6 separate regions of the Homo sapiens genome follow, and regions 1, 3, 4, 5 and 6 are each linked to region 2. Evidence: promoter capture Hi-C in 16 types of primary human blood cells and fetal thymus (Javierre and others, 2016). All regions are on one chromosome and are shown on one strand. The core of a region is centred on a gene start or on the middle of the fragment in contact, and the rest is flanking DNA. Distances in the headings are between cores, read along the strand shown.

Evidence for each region. Contacts are between HindIII fragments. The CHiCAGO score rates a contact against its expected background, and 5 or more counts as called.
Region 1: a fragment that was not itself captured here is called in contact with the fragment with the promoter of RMC1 in region 2 in 1 of 17 cell types (naive B cells); the score reaches 5.3 in naive B cells.
Region 3: a fragment that was not itself captured here is called in contact with the fragment with the promoter of RMC1 in region 2 in 2 of 17 cell types (naive B cells and total B cells); the score reaches 7.5 in naive B cells.
Region 4: a fragment that was not itself captured here is called in contact with the fragment with the promoter of RMC1 in region 2 in 1 of 17 cell types (total CD4 T cells); the score reaches 5.4 in total CD4 T cells.
Region 5: a fragment that was not itself captured here is called in contact with the fragment with the promoter of RMC1 in region 2 in 1 of 17 cell types (total CD8 T cells); the score reaches 6.1 in total CD8 T cells.
Region 6: a contact is called between a fragment that was not itself captured here and the fragment with the promoter of RMC1 in region 2, in 4 of 17 cell types (naive CD4 T cells, total CD4 T cells, naive CD8 T cells and 1 more). The highest score is 6.6, in naive CD4 T cells.

Annotation. Positions count from the first base shown.
Region 1 is chr18:22,927,066-22,929,978 of GRCh38, reverse strand. The region is part of intron 1 of RBBP8-AS1 (RBBP8 antisense RNA 1); the gene reads left to right. It also overlaps a transcript of RBBP8 not described here. Among named protein-coding and RNA genes, the nearest start is that of RBBP8, 4.8 kb to the left of the region's middle. RefSeq lists an enhancer at 256-305. The HindIII fragment of the contact is 3,813 bases long and covers 1-2,913 here.
Region 2 is chr18:23,502,076-23,504,879 of GRCh38, reverse strand. It overlaps RMC1 (regulator of MON1-CCZ1), which reads right to left and starts at 1,369. Exons shown (of 20, transcript NM_013326.5): 1 at 1,160-1,369; 2 at 433-509. The coding sequence starts at 1,261. RefSeq lists an enhancer at 658-757 and a silencer at 1,008-1,657. The HindIII fragment of the contact is 15,374 bases long and covers 1-2,804 here.
Region 3 is chr18:22,797,880-22,800,754 of GRCh38, reverse strand. All of the region lies in intron 2 of RBBP8-AS1 (RBBP8 antisense RNA 1), which reads left to right. It overlaps LOC124904263 (a long non-coding RNA gene), which reads right to left and starts at 2,525. Exons shown (of 2, transcript XR_007066308.1): 1 at 2,268-2,525. The HindIII fragment of the contact is 1,500 bases long and covers 825-2,324 here.
Region 4 is chr18:24,132,204-24,135,114 of GRCh38, reverse strand. TTC39C (tetratricopeptide repeat domain 39C) reads right to left here. Exons shown (of 14, transcript NM_001135993.2): 14 at 1-2,630. The coding sequence ends at 2,541. Among named protein-coding and RNA genes, the nearest start is that of CABYR, 5.4 kb to the left of the region's middle. The HindIII fragment of the contact is 2,237 bases long and covers 439-2,675 here.
Region 5 is chr18:24,081,114-24,084,131 of GRCh38, reverse strand. TTC39C (tetratricopeptide repeat domain 39C) reads right to left here. Exons shown (of 14, transcript NM_001135993.2): 6 at 1,051-1,219. Among named protein-coding and RNA genes, the nearest start is that of CABYR, 56 kb to the left of the region's middle. The HindIII fragment of the contact is 283 bases long and covers 1,328-1,610 here.
Region 6 is chr18:24,097,470-24,100,180 of GRCh38, reverse strand. All of the region lies in intron 6 of TTC39C (tetratricopeptide repeat domain 39C), which reads right to left. Among named protein-coding and RNA genes, the nearest start is that of CABYR, 40 kb to the left of the region's middle. The HindIII fragment of the contact is 2,188 bases long and covers 210-2,397 here.

The DNA.
Region 1 (2,913 bases), core at 93-2,592, 570 kb after region 2:
ACGTATCACGTTAGACTGATATCACTAAAGTCATATGGTTTCAAACTTCATGCAGGGCATCAGTTAATCCTTAAAATAGCCTTTGTTCAGCTCTTTTTATTTTCTCTGCTGTCTTCCAGACCTTTACTATTTTCAGTCCTCAAGCCTCTGAAGCTATTTTCACTCTAGGTGGACAACCTGGCCTCCTGATTAAACAAGACAATTGAGCTCCACAAGTGTGATCTTCCTAAACTTGCTTTTTTCTTTCTCAACCCTACGAATTAGGCAAAACCATTTGCAGTTAAAAATACAACCTGAGGCCAGATAGGGTGGCTCATATCTGTAACCTCAACGCTGTGGGAGGCCCGCGGGAGGCTCACTTGAGATTTGAGAAACTGCAGTATAGGCTGAATGACAGCCAGAACCTGTCTCTTAAACACACACACATACACACACACACACACACACACACACACCCGCCTGTCTCTTCACACACACACACACACACACACACACACACACACACACACACACCTGCCCAAACAATCCAGTTGCTTCTCACCTTTGTGTCCACCCTGGTTCAAGCTACCATCAACCTCTTCTACGGCAATATCCTCCTTTAAAAAAAAAAAAAAATCTGTTATCCACTCTGTTCTCCATTACAGTATATTCTCCAACAGCAGTCTGAGAGGTTCTTTAAAATCTATCAGAAAATCACACTCCCTGCTTAAAGCATTTCAGGGTCTTCCCATCACCCTAGAATAAAATCCAAACTCCTTTCCATGGTGTCAGGACGAGTCAGGCACTATATTCTGCTGATGATACCTCTTAAATATAATTTTGAATTAGTGCTTTCCTTTCCAACCTCACTTATTGCCCTAGTTGAGGCCCTGATGTTTCTTACCTAGGCAACAGCCTCCCTGCTTCCAGTCTTGTTCACCTTAATTCAGTCTCACAGCTGCCCAACATCTAAACCATTATTTCTGATCCTGGCATTCCTTTGCTTAAAACTCTTCAAAAGACTGTTGCCAGACTGGTGCGGTAGCTTACGCCTATAATCCCTGCACTTTGGGAGGCCGAGGTGGTTGGATCACTTGAGGTCAGGAGTTTGAGACCAGCTTGGCCAACATGGTGAAACCCTGTTTCTACTAAAAATACAAAAATTAGATGGGCATGGTGGCAGGCACCTGTAATCCCAGCTACTCGGGAGGCTGAGGGAGGTGAATCACTTGAACCCAGGAGGCGGAGGTTGTGGTGAGCCAAGATCACACCCCTGCACTCCAGCATGGGCGACAAAGCGAGACTGTGTCTCAAAAAAAAAAAAGAAAAAAAGGCTATTGCCTAAAGGTTAAAAATCAGTTTCTTTAAAATGTCACACAAGCTCTTATCCTTGCACAGTCTCTGCTGTACCCCTTGCTCTTTCCCTCTTTCAACAGGAAACTGCTTTTATTCCTCTCTCCTTCCCTTGGCTGTGTCTTACTCTTGGCTCATACAATGTTTTTCTCTTGGAATTACTTTCACCCCCATTTGTTACACTTCATCTTTCTTATTCTTTTAAGTCTCAGCTCAGGCACTACCTCTTTCAGGCGACTAACCTAACATCTCTCTTCATCCTTCCTTTCTATACCCTTTCACAAATGGCCTTCCTCATTCTCCCATGCCCTCAATATATATCTTTATCATTGCACTTAACACCATTATATTGTAATTATTTTTGTGTTTTTAATCTTCAGCTGGGCTCCTTGATGTCAGACTGTGCTTTCTTTATTCTTCTGTTTTCCTACTTTTTTTTTTTTTTGGAGACAAAGTCTTACTCTGTCCCCCAGGCTGGAGTGCAGTGGCGCGATCTCAGCTTATGATAGCCTTCACCCTCCAGATTCAAGCAATCCTCATGCCTCAGTCTCCCGAGTAGCTGGGATTACAGGCACCTGCCTAGCTAATTATTGTGTCTTTAGTAGAGACGGAGTTTTGCCATGTTGGCCAGGCTAGTCTCAAACTCCTGACCTCAGGTGATCCACCCTCCTCGGCCTCCCAAAGTGCTGGGATTACAGGCATGAGCCACCACGCCCAGCCCTGTTTTCCTGCTTTTTTTTTTTTAATTTTTTGAGACAGAGTCTCACTCTGTTGCCCAGGCTGGAGTGCAGTGGCACAATCTCGACTCACTGCAACCTCTGCCTCCTGGGTTCTTTCCTACTTTTTACTAGAGTCTTAGCACAGAACTATCCCACAGAGCCACATATATAATATTAAATTTTCTAAAAATTACATTTTAAGTAAAAATCAGGTGAAATTAACTTAATATATTTTATTTAACCCAGTTTATCTAAAATATTATTTAAACATGTAATCAATATAAAAATTAATGAGACTTTTTACATTCTTTTTCTTCATACTAAGTCTCTGAAATCTGTTATATATTTTACCTTTACAGCACATCTCAGTTTAGACTAGCCACATTATAAGTTCTCAAGTCTGCATGTGACTAGTGGCTACTGTATCGTACAGCGCAGGCCCAGCATATATAATATAATCAATGAGTGAACAAATGAGGTTGTGTGATTTACTTAAAGAAGCAGGATGGAACTGGGACGTGGGTATCCAATTCTTCGTTTATTTCTGCTATTTGTGCTGGGCATTTCCCATCTCTGTCCTGCTCCCTGCATCATCCCATCCCCCACCCAGCATTAAGTGCCTGTGTCTCCAGGCATAAAATTAAAAAGTAAGTGATTAAATCCTTTATGATTATTTATCTAAAACTCTCTAGTATCTCTGACATGAACACACAATACTGGTAAACTGGGGTGAATTGTTATACCTGCAGTCATAACTATTTTAAGAACACAACAAAGGCTGTTTGAGAGGTGAGGGAAAGAAACTTTAAGACAAAAGAAAAGTATCTTAACTGGCAACATTTGTGTTAACTTGAATGAACAC
Region 2 (2,804 bases), core at 120-2,619:
ACTGGGACTATGCAGTCACCTTAAGTATAGTGGAAGCCATGATTTTCTTGTATTATTACATGAGAAACAATGAATCTCCTCCACCTGCCACTCTGGAAAGACCTGGGCTAAAGAAATGAACGCCCTCCTCTGTGAACAAACCAGAAATGGGCACATCATCACGCTGACTTGTTAATTTCCAGTGCTAGGAAGTGGCTGCCCCACTTTTGAAGTATTTGGCTCCCAAATCAACTGCTCCAGATATTCCACTCTGACAAGAGGTGCTAGTAAGTGCCACGAAGACCCTCCCTACAGACAGGAATTCCATGTGCGCACACAGACTTCAGGCCTCTTAGGGCAGACCAAATGACAAAATTATAAAAAACCATTTGAATTAGAAAAACATCATTCTGTTTACATGACAAAATGATCTGAAAGTGTCTATACCATTACCTAAATGAGATGGGATTCCTATCATCTGGGCCTTTAACTACCACGCCAGTAGCTCCACCAGATCGAACAGCAAAAACCTGAGAGGGAAAAGCAGCAAGGTTAACAGCCTGAACTCTGAAAGGATCTAAACTCAGAAGCCAACCCGCAAGCGATTATTTCTGTTATACACCACCCTGGGTTCAACTAAAGTAACACGGCACATATCAAGGTACAGATGTTTGGCTGCTCAGGTGAATTTTAAAAACCAAGAGCAGAGAGCGAAAAGGATGCCACCGTGACACCGGGTCGGGTTCCCGAGGCTCCAAGTTCTAACACCGGTTCGCGCATCGGCGCCGCTGATACGCCTGAAGTACAGTCTTTTCCCCCTTTACAAAATTTCAAGGAAAATGAAAATCTCGACGTCTAAACCCTTGACTACGAGTGTAACTAATGACAAACACAACAAAAGAAGCCTAGATAAGACGGGCGCGCCAACAATTGAGACACTGGCCACGGGGCCACTGCATCCGCGCAGCTGGCTCGGGGGTCCAGCCCCGAGGTCACCTGCGAGGACACCTGGCCGCGGCTGAGCCCACCCAACAAGGAAGGAGCGCGCGCCGCCTCCCGCGCTGGGACGGGACGGGACAGGACAGGAGGGGACGCTCGGGCCTGGTCGCGCGGGACCGGCCTTGGCGCGCCCACGACCCCGGCAGGGCCGCGCGGGGGAGGAAGCGCGGGCGCGCCGGACCTGCTTGTTGGCCTCATCGAAGAAGACGCAGTTGACAGGGTTCGCCTTCTCGAACTGCACCGGCCGCTCGCACAGCTCCAGATAGTAGTCCTCCTCGCCCATGGCGGGCGCCGCGCCCGCGGCGGGGGCCCCGGGGGCGGTCGCCAGAGTGGAGCAGGATGCGCGGTGGAGCCCGGCCCGGACTGTAGCGGCGGCTGCGGCTGCGGCTCTGGGCCCGGCGCGGACGCCGCTTCCTGGTGCCACGCCCCCACCCCGCCCACCACGTGACCCGCGGCCCTCTGCGCTTAAACGGGCAGCGTCTGGCTGCGGTGGGGCCCACCGGCCTTAACCACGCCCCGCCCGGCGCTGGAGGCTCCTCCCCTCTCCCCGAGGGCGGTCGGAACGCGGCGGCGTGACCCGGAAGCCCGCGTGGTTCCCCGCGGACCGAGGGCGGCGTAGCCGCCAACCCTACCCTGCTGCGAGTTCCTGTGCCCGGCTCGGTCGCCCCTGCCCCAACCTGTACCCCCGCGTGGGACCGCTCCCGGTCTAGGAAAGGCTCCTCCTTGCTTTCGGGAGGATTTCCCAAGTGCCTCCCGCGCCAGAGTTCCAGCCTCTGGGAGCTTCGTCAGGGAGAAGGGGCTGAAGGCTCACTGAGCAGGTGTAGGGGCGCCAGAGACCGTCTCCAGTCCCCTCAGCGCTTCTGCGGGCTCTTCCGCTGGAGCCAGAAACCGAATTGACAAGAGGCAGATAAACAAAAGAAAAGCATACACACTTTATTAGTTTTTCATGGGGACCTTCAAAAGAGAGTGAGGTCTGAAGAAGTGGCCACAGCAAGATGCTTTTATACTTTTTAGACAAAGAATGATGCATTTGAGAAGAAAGCACAAAAGGCATCTGGCTGGGGCGATACATTTCTAAGAGAGTCACTAGGAGAAATATTGGGGAGGGTGTAAAATTAGTGGAAGGTAAGTGTTACTTGGGAAGTTCATTTATTCAGGTCCATTGCAGCCCCAACTCCCAGTCTCTGGTGATAAGGGCTATTTTCTGACCCGGGTACAGAGAGGGTGCCACTCCCAGAGGAATCTTTACTGCTTATTCCCTGTAGGAAACGACAGGTCATCTAGCCCTTTCTGAAACTACAATTTCTCCGGTGTTTTTAGCTCAAAATAATATACCAATTTTTGGACATATTTTGGGATAGCACATCCTTCACTCCTTGCTAGTAACAGGGAAACCTAATATAGATTGTGGGTCAGCAAGCCTTTTTACTTGATAAGAAACATGAAATTTACCATGTTAGCCCCTCTTTTTTTGTTTGTTTCAGAGACAGAGTGTCTCTGTGCCCAGGCTGGAGAGCAGTGATGCGAACACGGCTCACTGCAGTCTCAACCTCCCATCTCAGCCTCACAAGTAGCTGGGACCACGGGTGCATGCCACCACACCTGGCTCATTTTTTTATTATTATGCTTTGTAGAGACAGCGTTCTCTGTTGCCCAGGCTGGTCTCAGACTCCTGGCCTCAAGTGATTCTCTCGCTGACCGTGCTCAGCCCCCATGTTAACCCTTTATTTTTATTGTTTATTTTATTTTATTTTGAGACGGAATTTCGTTCTTGTTGCCCAGGCTGGAGTGCAATGGCCCTGTCTCGGTTCACTGCAACCTCCACC
Region 3 (2,875 bases), core at 325-2,824, 700 kb after region 2:
TTTCTCTTTTATTGCGCAACTGGAAGAAATGGGTCATTTTATGTTCTCTGGAACCAAAGATAAATTCCCACTTGTTCCCATGACTCCCAGCAGATATCACAAGACCTCTGTCTACTAGACCCTGCCGAGACCGTGGCAACCCTGTGGCTGCCCGTCCAAGCATGCCCAGTGTTTGCTGCCACCACCGCCACAGCATCTATGGTCTTGGGTGCTGGCGGGAGAACATTTTGCATCAGAAACCATGGCTGAAGGTGATCTCGCTAAAAAAATCCTGTCCTGTATGTTACCTTTCACTGTTTCCCACAACTGATTTAGAGCCCAAGGAAAAGGATGCTAAGAGCTTGGGTTCTTTCTCACTGCAAATCTGTGAGCTGGTACTCTTAACCAGCTTTAACTCTTAACCAGTGAGTTAACTCTGTGAGCTTTAACTCTTTACCAGTCACTGCTTCCCCGTACAACCAGCCTGCTTAACCTAGAAGTAAGGGAAAAATCACTCCTTTGCTATTACCCTGCTTTTACCTGACCCCAGACCCCCAAGTCCTAGATATTAAAGTGGGATTTAAAGTCTTTTTTTATTGTTAAATTTGTAGCCAAGGCATGTAGAGGTGTTTGTTCCCTAGTGGGTGGCAGGTTGCAGTCTAATTTTATTTTCATTTTCAAGATTTGGTTTCAGGGCTTAATGTGGGAAATTAGGTGATCATGAATAGAAAGTAATTGTGCAACCATCTATGTCTGATTTATTAAAAAACAAAACTCTGAAAAGGAAAATCACAGCAGTGCCTCATAGTTGTACTTCTATGTTAATATCTGTTTGTCAAAAAGCTTTTCCCCTTTGCACATAATAGGTGATATAAAAGTGTTTCCTAAAATCTCAAATGTAAACTATACCAACAACATGTTCTATTCAGAAATCTGTTTTAGAACAGCTTTTGCATGTTAATGATAAATTCATTTCATTATTAGATTTTTCCTATAATTAGAGATATCTTTTAAAAAGTGAAACAATACCTGCCTCTTAATAAAGTCTTCCTCTTTGTTGAATGAACTAACAAATGAAGACTTCAGGGAAGACTAAAACCATCCTCTACCAAATTCCATGGTATGGCTTGGGACTAGATTGCCTTTGGCTCTGGCAGAACATTATAATCCCTGGAGGGATCTCCTGAATTTAGTAAATGCCTCCTGTGAGTTGAATGACACATTTCTTTGCTAGTGGGTGGGAGTATTCCTACGGTTTTTTTCAGCGTGGATAGTGCCAGGAATCCTAAGGGCTTTGCTTTCAAAAGCAGACAAATAACTCAGTTTTGCAAACCTCAGAGGATCAGTAAGAGAAAGTGACCCAAGCCCCAGAGAAAAAGCAGGGATGTTTAAGGATAGAACCATCCCTTTATTTATCCTTTTATCTCATTCCAGAACCATAAATCTCTTCGCCGTCTTGGATTGCCTCCCTATAACAACATGTGGTAGAGATTTTGGCCCAAGTACTAATTAAACCTGAAGGAACCCCAAGGGGAAAACTCAGTCTTGAGTCTCCCTCTGGTGGACATTTGTAGTAATCCACATACAGCTCTGTCAAATGAAGGGACGAATTTCAGAAATAAATATTCAAAGAATAGTAAACATATTCTAAGACACCAGCACTATGCACTATTATTTTCTATGCATTAATTAAAATTCTTAAATTATTCACCTCTATAATCTTCTGTTTTATTTCCTAGAATTTACCCTCACTTTGAAAATCTGAGCTGGATGCAGTGGTTCACGCTTGTAATCTCACCACTTTGGGAGCCCAAGGCAGTAGGCTCATTTGAGGCCAGGAGTTCCAGACCAGCCTGGCCAAAATGGCGAAACCCTACCTCTACTAAAAATACAAAAATTAGCTGGGCATGGTGTTGAGCGCCTGTAATCCCAGCTACTCGGGAGGCTGAGGCAGGAGAATCACTTGAACCCGGGAGGCAGGAGAATCGCTTGAACCCAGAAGGCGGAGGTTGCAGTGAGCCGAGCTAGCGCCACTGCACTCCAGCCTGTGTGACAGACCGAGACTCCGTCTTGATTAAAATAAAATTTAATAAAAAGTTTAAACAATTCCTTGAAACAAAACAGCCTAGAGTCCCCTCACCCCAGCGCTACAAAGTAAATGAAAGAAGTAAACAGTTTGTCCATCTCCATTTCCATTCTAACACAGAACACCAAAGCAGAGATGATTTAAAATTTGCCATTTGTAATTAACTGCTGGGCAGGATTCCACTGGAAAATTTCCCTCTCACCTTTAACTTGAATCCAGAGGAGGTTTAAGGTGTTATCAGCTCTTCCTCAGGGAAGCTTCCACGCAGGAGGCTTTCTTTGGAGCTCTGTTCCCTAGGTAGCTCCAGGATCTTTGGACTTTTCTTGTGCTTATATAGTTAATGGCCCTCTGAATTGCTCTCTTCAAAAGGGGAACCGTTTGAACTTGGGGGGCGGAGGTTGCAGTGAGCCGAGATCTCGCCATTGCACTTCAACCTGCGCGACTGAGCAAGACTCTGTCTCAAAAAAAAAAAAAAAAAAAAAAAAAGGCCAGGGGCGGTGGCTCACACCTGTAATCCCAGCACTTTGGGCAGGCGGATCAGGAGGTCAGGAGATCGACACCATCCTGGCTAACACGGTGAAACCCTGTCTCTACTAAAAATACGAAAATTAGCCGGGCATGGTGGGCGGGCTCCTGTAGTCCTAGCTACTCCGGAGGCTGAGGCAGGAGAATGGCGTGAACCCGGGAGGCGGAGCTTGCAGTGAGCCGAGATCGCGCTACTGCACTCCAGCCTGGGCGACAGAGCGAGACTCCGTCTCAAAAAAAAAAAAAAAAAAAAAAAAAAAAAAAAAGGAGTAGGGGAGACAGTGA
Region 4 (2,911 bases), core at 308-2,807, 630 kb before region 2:
AGAAGAATCGCTTAAACCCGGGTGACAGAGGTTGCAGTGAGCACAGATCACACCACTGCACTCCAGCCTGGGCAACAGAGTGAGACTCTGTTTCAAAATAAAAATAAAAATAAAGATTAAAAATTTTAAAAAGACCTACACTTTGACTAGTAAAGAAAACCTACAGGATGGTGTTGCAAAACGCAAAATTGTCTATCCAGTTAAGTGAGCTGAACACAAACTAATCTGAAGTCCTGAACTCTCTGTGGGGAAATAAAAGTATTTTTTTTAAGCAGGCAGAAATAAATGTTTTGAAAAAGATTCAAAAGCACAGGACCTTATATAATCTTTGAATGTGGAATAATAGTTCAAACAATATTTTGAACTGAAAATTCAAGAATGAACTCTCAAACAAAAATGTCATGATTCAGAATGCTCCATGATGATGACAGAAAAGCTTGTCACCTATGCTGCATGTTAAGAAGAGAGAAAAATGGCAACAGCCGTATTTTAAAGATTCATAATGTTCTTCCCTTCCATCTAGTTAAAACCAGATGTCCAGGCCGGGCACGGTGGCTCACACCAGTAATCCCAGCTCTTTGGGAGGCCAAGGCGGGTGGATCACGAGGTCAGGAGATGGAGACAATCCTGGCTAACATGGTGAAACCCCATCTCTACTAAAAATACAAAAAAAATTAGCCGGGTGTGGTTGCGGGTGCCTGTAGTCCCAGCTACTTGGGAGGCTGAGGCAGGAGAATGGTGTGAACCCAGGAGGCAGAGGTTGCAGTGAGCCAAGATCACGCCACTGCACTCCAGCCTGGGTGACAGAGCGAGACTCCGTCTCAAAAAAAAAAAAAAAAAAAAAAAAAAACAAAAAACAGATGTCCAATATTTTTGGGCACCAATTTTGCTCTTCAGAAAAAAGTTCCCTTCTCATTCACTGAATATAGGAGAGCAATCTCTTCTCTCTTACTATTATCTAAAACCCACACGGAATTCACATCAGGGAGAAAGTCAATGTGAATACACATTTTGGAAACAGTCTACTGAAAAGTGGTCAGTAACAGAGATGAAGAAATATGAATACTGTTTAGCCAAAATCAGTGAGAAATAACTTCTTTCAAAGAAATTATGACTATTCCCTCAAAACAAGGTCAAATCAGATAAAATTTGCCAACATTCTACTTGCTTTTCTGTTTTATTTTGAAAAGAAATATTAAAATATTAATATGAGATCATGTTTCAGCCAAAAGAATTTGTAAATAAACGATACCCTAAAATGATATCCTTTAGCTCAATAAAAATTTCTTTAAAAATCTAACCTTAAACATTGAGCCAAATTATGGCAGAGATTCTTAAAAGTGACTGAGGTATTTAGATTCTTCAAAACCACAGGTTTGCAGTACCGGGCATGGAGGTAAATTAAATGACAAAAATTAGCAATGAAGAATAAAAAAATAACTTTGAATTCCTTGTATAATATCTAAATAACCTGAGCTAAGGGGAAAATGATTAAATCCTGGCACTGTGTAGCCCAGCAAATGTTCCACCAGCAAATATTTTGAGGCCAAAATCTATGTTCATTCACGAATAACCTTTTCAAGTAATGTGTCAAAAGATTTCCAAAAGTTGGTAATTTGACAATTTTCACAAAGAAAGGTAAACTCCTAAAATGTAGATACTGTTTGTCTAATCTATAGACTAGGCTAATAGATTAGCAAAAGAGTCACACTTTTAGTTGTAAAATTATCTTCTATTAATATTTGCTCTTACTTGGTTGGCTTTCAAAGGAAAAAGAGTGTCCATCGCTTTGAAACATTCTGTAGACAATCTGGAGATGACTATTTCTGGTGACATAACTTCAGCTGAAGATTTTGTTCTTTTAATAAGTAAAACATGGAATTCTGGCCTATTAACATGAATTATTTTTACAATAAAAGTCAGTTGGTGGTCAGGAGATCTGCTTTCTATTCATTGCTCTGCTGATAACAGGAATAATTAATTGGGATAAGTCAATTTGCCTTTTTGTGCCTGAGTTTCACTGTCTGCAAAGTGGGGTTAAGAATATCTGTGCTATGTTATTCACTGGAGTATTTTGAGGATAAAGTAAAACACTAGAAAGCACTTTTATTTTTTCAAAACACAAATATAAATGCTATGTCATGATATTGTTAATAATTTTACAGGTACCTCATCATGTTACCCATTCAGATATGTGCTTAAGGTAGGTGTTCCTACAGGATCTTGGGTTGGATGTTCCGTTTGATTTTATTTTAAAAATAATAAATCACAAAACTAAAACGTTTGAGCAAGGTCACTTAACCCTCTCCCCAGGTGGTTAGTTATTATTACCATCATCATCCTCCTCAACATCATTATTACTTTTCAGCTACATGTTTAAAAGAGGAGATCTTTAATATGTCAGCTTAACTGGGAAAATGTGTCCCTGGCACAGGTGGTTTTCAGAAGAAAAGCCCATCTTCACAAGAGCTTTGTCCTCTGCTTTTATTTTAAAGTGCGGACCCTGGGTGGGGAGGGACGGAGCGGGTGTTCCGGGTCTGTCACTGAGGAACCAATTCCCTCAGAGAGGCCAGAGCAGCATGGATGCGGACATGCAATCTGTTTTCAAAGTCGTAGCCAGAGAAATCCTCCTGTAAGATCAAAGAAAGATATTTATGCACTCTGTTAGCTAAGCTTGCACAGGGTACTGTGGTATAAAGCACACTCAATTTTGCATTTCCCAAAGTAAAATCTCTACACTCCCAGTAAAGGTTTCCCATCCACTTGATTTTCATATTACTCAAACCTCAAACTTTGTATTCATTTTTAAAAACGTCAACTGAATGTCAATAAGGTTCTCTTTGGACAATTTTCCTCGAGTTATTCTTGAAAAAGTAGTCTTATGTTGTGCTCAATATAAGTTGCTATTAGA
Region 5 (3,018 bases), core at 220-2,719, 580 kb before region 2:
TGCTCTGCATGGTCTTCAGATTTAAGGAGTCACTTTATGAAGGAGAAAAATGACTGGGAAAGTAATATACACTCCACTGCCTGCATCCCCACCCCCAAAAAAACAAATTATTCCTGTGCCCATGAAAGCATTTCTAGGCAAAAATCTTCAAAAGGACTCATGGGGGCTGATTTCTCAGAGTGCCTGGTTAACTGGAGGACAGATGTTGTTAAAATCTCAAACTGATTCCCTGATAACTCTTGGTAACAATGTAGATGGAGCAGCTACTATAACAGCTATCTTATTTCATAGGTATGATTAATTTCTTATAGTTTCATTTTTCTACAAATCCTCATAACCTCAAACAAGCAGATAAAAAGATATGCAAAGGAGAAGTAGACTCCAAAGGCCAGCGCATTTCTGGTTCTGGAGTGAGACAACCCAGGCTCACTCACTGGGCAAGCACAGGAAGTTGCTTGAAGCCCTCTTAGATCCCTGTTTATTTTTTCTATAACATGCAGATGACAATTTTACACCTATGTCACAGGGTTGTTCTGAGGATGAAATGGAAAAGCGTGTATAAAGTTCTTAACGCAGTACTGAGCCAAATTAAGCACATGAAAATGTGATAAAAGCTCCTAGTATTTCAAAGCTCATGTTGCCCTGATATTTAAGGCAGTAACTTTTGTATAAGTCAATTGTTAGCCAAGATCAAAGTTTAGAAAGAGATTATTAGTAATTCAGAGAGGGAAAAAAATTGTATTTTGTATTTTTCAACTCAGCAACTAAATAATGCTCACGTGCCTTAGGCTGGAAGTGCACCAATCTTGTGTCATTAGCAATGAGGAATCTTACCCCTACTTCGCCCACATCTTCCGAACAGAAGGTAACTGACTAACATCCTGGGTTCCTGGAAGAGTCTTCCCTAGCAAAGACACAAGGAAAGGCAAAAGAACAAAATGCTCCGGGGCCCTGGGACATTCTGGCTCGTTTTAATACCAGTCCTCAAGTGAGAATCAGAGATTTGATCATCGGAGGCTTTATTTTAAAAAGATGAGGAAGGTACAGTACCTCTAGTCGTTGTATCCGTCCCTTGAAAAACATAAAGAGGGAAGAATTTGGATAAGCAGCTTCTTTTTTAAGGAGAATTTCCTTAGCTTCATCCAGGCCTGCCTTGTTATCACTGCCATCCAAGGCAAAAAACGGGCGGACTACAGTATGATACCAGAGCAGAGCTAATCTAGAGGAAGAGGGAGAGAAACATTGAGCACATTAACTTTCCTTACACCATTTCCATTTTTCAAAACTCCAGTATGTGTTCTTCCAATACTACTCTATCCAAAAAGCTTACTATGCAGTCTCTGAAGAAGTAAAATCAGAGACTTTCCCCATTTTAATGTTAATATTTGGAAAACTGCAACTTTAGCACAATATATAAATCAGAAGACACCCTTCCCTCAGGGGAGAAGAGAATAAAGTAACAGGAGCATTTAGCTTTTCTGAGCCTTCTAGATGGATCGCTGAAGAGATGGCTGACATAAATCTCTGAATTCTACACTTTACTCATTAATGCACCAATTAGAAATGGTAACTAGTCACCATGAGTTTACCGTTCCCTTGTAATAAAAGCTTTATTTATTTATTTTTGGCAAAAGGAAAATGTTGTTTTCTCTTGCGTTCACAAAACTTAGGGTATAAACCTAGAATCTAAGTTTAAATATCATGCACAAATAAATAGGTCAAAAGGAAAAAGAAAATTTATAAAAAAGAATAAATTTAAATATGGAAACCACAGACACAAATTATACTAAGTTGGGTTAAAATAAGTGAGGGGATAAGACAAAGGGCTCTTTCTCTGGCCTTTGAAGATGTTCAATTTAAAAAACAAGCAAATAAATAAATTACTTCAGACTCCCTTGCTCCAAACTCATTATTTAAAAAAAAAAATGGCCATGTTAAACTAGGTAAACAAAACAGAGTCACTGGGATTTGTAATCCTAGCTACTTGGGAGACTGAGGCAGAATTGCTTGAACCGGGACCCGGGAGGCAGAGGTTGCAGTGAGCCGAGATCGCGCCACTGCACTCCACCCTGGGCTACAGAGCAAGACTCTGTCTCAAAAAAAAAAAAAAAAAAAACAACAGCCAGACAAAAATGTTTAACCAACATGTCAAATATTTTTATGTAAATGCATACTTCTGGTGTGCTTATAAATTTGGTTCTCTTATGGAGCTCATACTAATGACACTATTAATTCTATTCATTTCTTTATCAGAGATAAGCATAAAATATTAAGATATAAACAGACAAATGATCACAAGTTAACAAACCTATTAATTCACATTAATAAAGGACAACTGTGTACTTCAATGAGTTTAGGGAGGCATAATTTTTTTAAATGAAAAATTAATGGTATTTTAAATAGCTATCAGTTGATTAAGAGTTAACATCCAAATTTCTCAATACTGATACAAGTAGAAATAGAGGTAAGGTCCTCTATGATATCAACATTTTTGGGGAAAATTTTGACAAGTGCTGTAATGTTAGACAAAGAATATCCGGAATCGTGTTAAATTACTCAAGTTACAAATGGTAGATATTTGCCAGACTAAAACAAACAAACAAAAAACACATCACTTTTAACTGATGTAGAAATTGGTGAATTCTTGTTCTAGATAGTTATATCAGCTTCCTCATGCTCTCCTGCTTAAATAATTATTATTTAAGTTTAAACCAAGGAACATAACATGACTCAGTTTAGCGAAAGAGCACAAAATATCCATGTCACATATAGGAAACCACCTTGAATCATCAAGGAAAATTACCCAATGTGAGAATTCTTTATAAGAATAAAAATTTCAGAAACACAGAAAAAGCTTAGCAAATTTGTACCTCCTAAGTCCAAAAATCAGAATCGTGAATCTCAGAGAATGTGGTCAAAGTCACAAAAACTGCTTATAAAATCATTTGAGGTTTTAAAATACATGACTTGTGAGACTAGTGAACAACGCCTTGTTCTCTAACTAAAGTCAGCTTAGAA
Region 6 (2,711 bases), core at 54-2,553, 600 kb before region 2:
CCCTAAACACCCTGAATGTGATCAAATCCCTAATCCCAGAACACAAATATCCAACTATTCTAATACAACAAATGTGTTATGATAAACTATTAAGAAAAACTGTAAAACAAGCTAAGTTAAGGGAAACTAGAAACGATGGAAATTTTAAAATGAGTTGATTAAAAAAATCAATCTCTCTCTCTCAAAACCAATATGATAATCCAAAAGCTTAATCATAAAATTAAGAAAACACAAATTAGTCTAATAAAATAATATCACATTTTTACAGATCTGAAACTAGTATTAAGTTATATGTTTGGAAAGTAATAACTAGAAATGGAAAACTATAATATAAAACTAAAATGGATATAAGTAAATATATATTAACATTACAGAAGAAATAAGGGAAGTTATTAAAAAACTGATTTCAAAAGGGAATTTCACAGCAGTAAGTTACATAAGAACTCCTTCCAATGTTTAATGGCAGTTTAATTACTTTAAGTGATCTGTTTCTCCAAAATATGGAGATATAAGAAAGCATATAAAAAAGATACGCTTTTAGCCAAATCATTAAAAACAAATCAGGTCTATTCCTAAAGCCTAGTAAACACAAGTCCCAGAAATATTTATATTCACATTTAAATACATACATATATATATTAATTGCTAAGTTACATATATCAGTTATATATTATATATAACATTGTTATGGAATGCTCCTGCCTCACAAAATTGATACATGAAATCCTAACCCTCACTGGAACTGTATTAGGAGGTGGGAGTTTTGTGAGGTAATCAGATCATGAGGGTGGAGCCCTCATGAATGCAATTTGTGCCCTCATAAAAGAGACCCCTGAGTGCTCTCTAGCCCCCTTTCCACCATCTGAGGACACAGTGAGAAGCCATCATCTATGAACCAGGACATGGTCCTCACTAGACACCCAATCTTCTGGCACCTGGATCTCATGCCTCCAGAACTGTGAGAAATAAAAGTGTGTTGTTTTAGTCACCCAATCTATAGTATTCTTTTATAGCAGCCCAAACTAAGACACACACATACACACACACACACACACACACACACACACGTTTTATATATATATATGTATATATGTTATATATATGTATATATGTTATATGTATATACGTGTATAGATATATATATACACACACACACACACACACACACACACACATTCCTCTAACTTATTAGCAAATAAAAGCAGTGGGATATACTAGAAAAAACACTCGATTAAAAAAAGAAAGCCTGGGCTGGGCGCAGTGACTCATGCCTGTAATCCCAGCACTTTGGGAGGCCAAGGCAGGAGGATCACTTGAGGTCAGGAGTTCGATACCAGCCTGGCCAACATGGCAAAACCCCGTCTCTACTAAGAATACAAAAATTAGCCAGGTGTGGTGTTGGGCACCTGTACTCCCAGCTACTCAGGAGGCTGAGGCAGGAGAATTGCTTGAACCGGGAGGCAGAGGTTGCAATGAACCAAGAACGCACCACTGCACTCCAGCCTGGGTGATAGAGCGAGACTCCATCTAAAAAGAGATGAAAAAGAGACAAACAGAAGAGAAGAGAAAAGAAGAAAGAAAGGGAGGGAGAGAGGAAAAGAAAGCAAGAAAGGGAGAGGAGAGGAGAGGAGAGGGGAGGGGAGGGGAGGGGAGGGGACGGGAGGGGAGGGGAGAGGAGAGGATAGGAGAGGAGAGGGAAGGGAGAGGAGAAAAGAAAGGAAAGGAAAGGAGAAAGGAAAGAAAGGAAAGGAGGAAGGAAGGAAGGAGGGAGGGAGGGAGGGAGGGAGGGAGGGAGGGAAGGAAAAGAAAGGAAAGAAAGAAAGCCTGAATTCTAGGTCTTCCTTAATCCTAAAATAACTATGTACACTTTCACAAAGTACTTATCTCATCTGGACCCCTGCTTGCTATATACGACAGGACAGACATATGCAAAAATTTTATAGTCAAAATGGGAGAAATAAAAGGTGACATGACTAAATGAAGACATATCCTCAGTGACTGATAAGAAATATTATAAACATAGTATCAATTTAAATTTCCCATTAACAGAGAACCTGAGAAACTGATAGTTATGTATATATGTGAGAGAACAAGTGGATAAAAAATAATATAATATATATTTAAAAGGCAATCATGATATTCTTGTTTTATTTAAGACATAGGCAGGGTCTTCAAAATGGTCATAGAAAATGTGCATTATAATAAAACTATGCATGAATTTCAAATTTTTTTACACCAAAATAAGCCCATACTAACTTGCTATAACATGTCTGAGCAGGATCTAGTTTGAGGCACTAAGAAGCATAAGACATCAACTTGAAAAGAGCCCCTATCAGAGCAACATAAATTCTGCATTTAAATGGAAGCAAGAACAAACATAAAACCTATGGTGAAGCTTGGGTGAAAGAATGGTGAAATCACTGACACTTTACAAAAAGTTTATAGGAATAATTCCCCAAAGAAATCAGCAGTTTGCAAATGTATAAGTTTACGAAGGGCCAAGACGATGTTGAAGATGAAGCCCATGGTGGCAGACCATCTACACAGATTTGCAAAGAAAATATTAATCTTGTTCATGCCCTAATTGAAGAGGACTATAAATAATAGCCAACACCATAGACATCTCAATTGGTTCAGCTTACACCATTCTGACCAAAAAAGATGAGCAAAGTTTCACTTGATGGGTGCCAAAACCACTGCACCCAGATCAG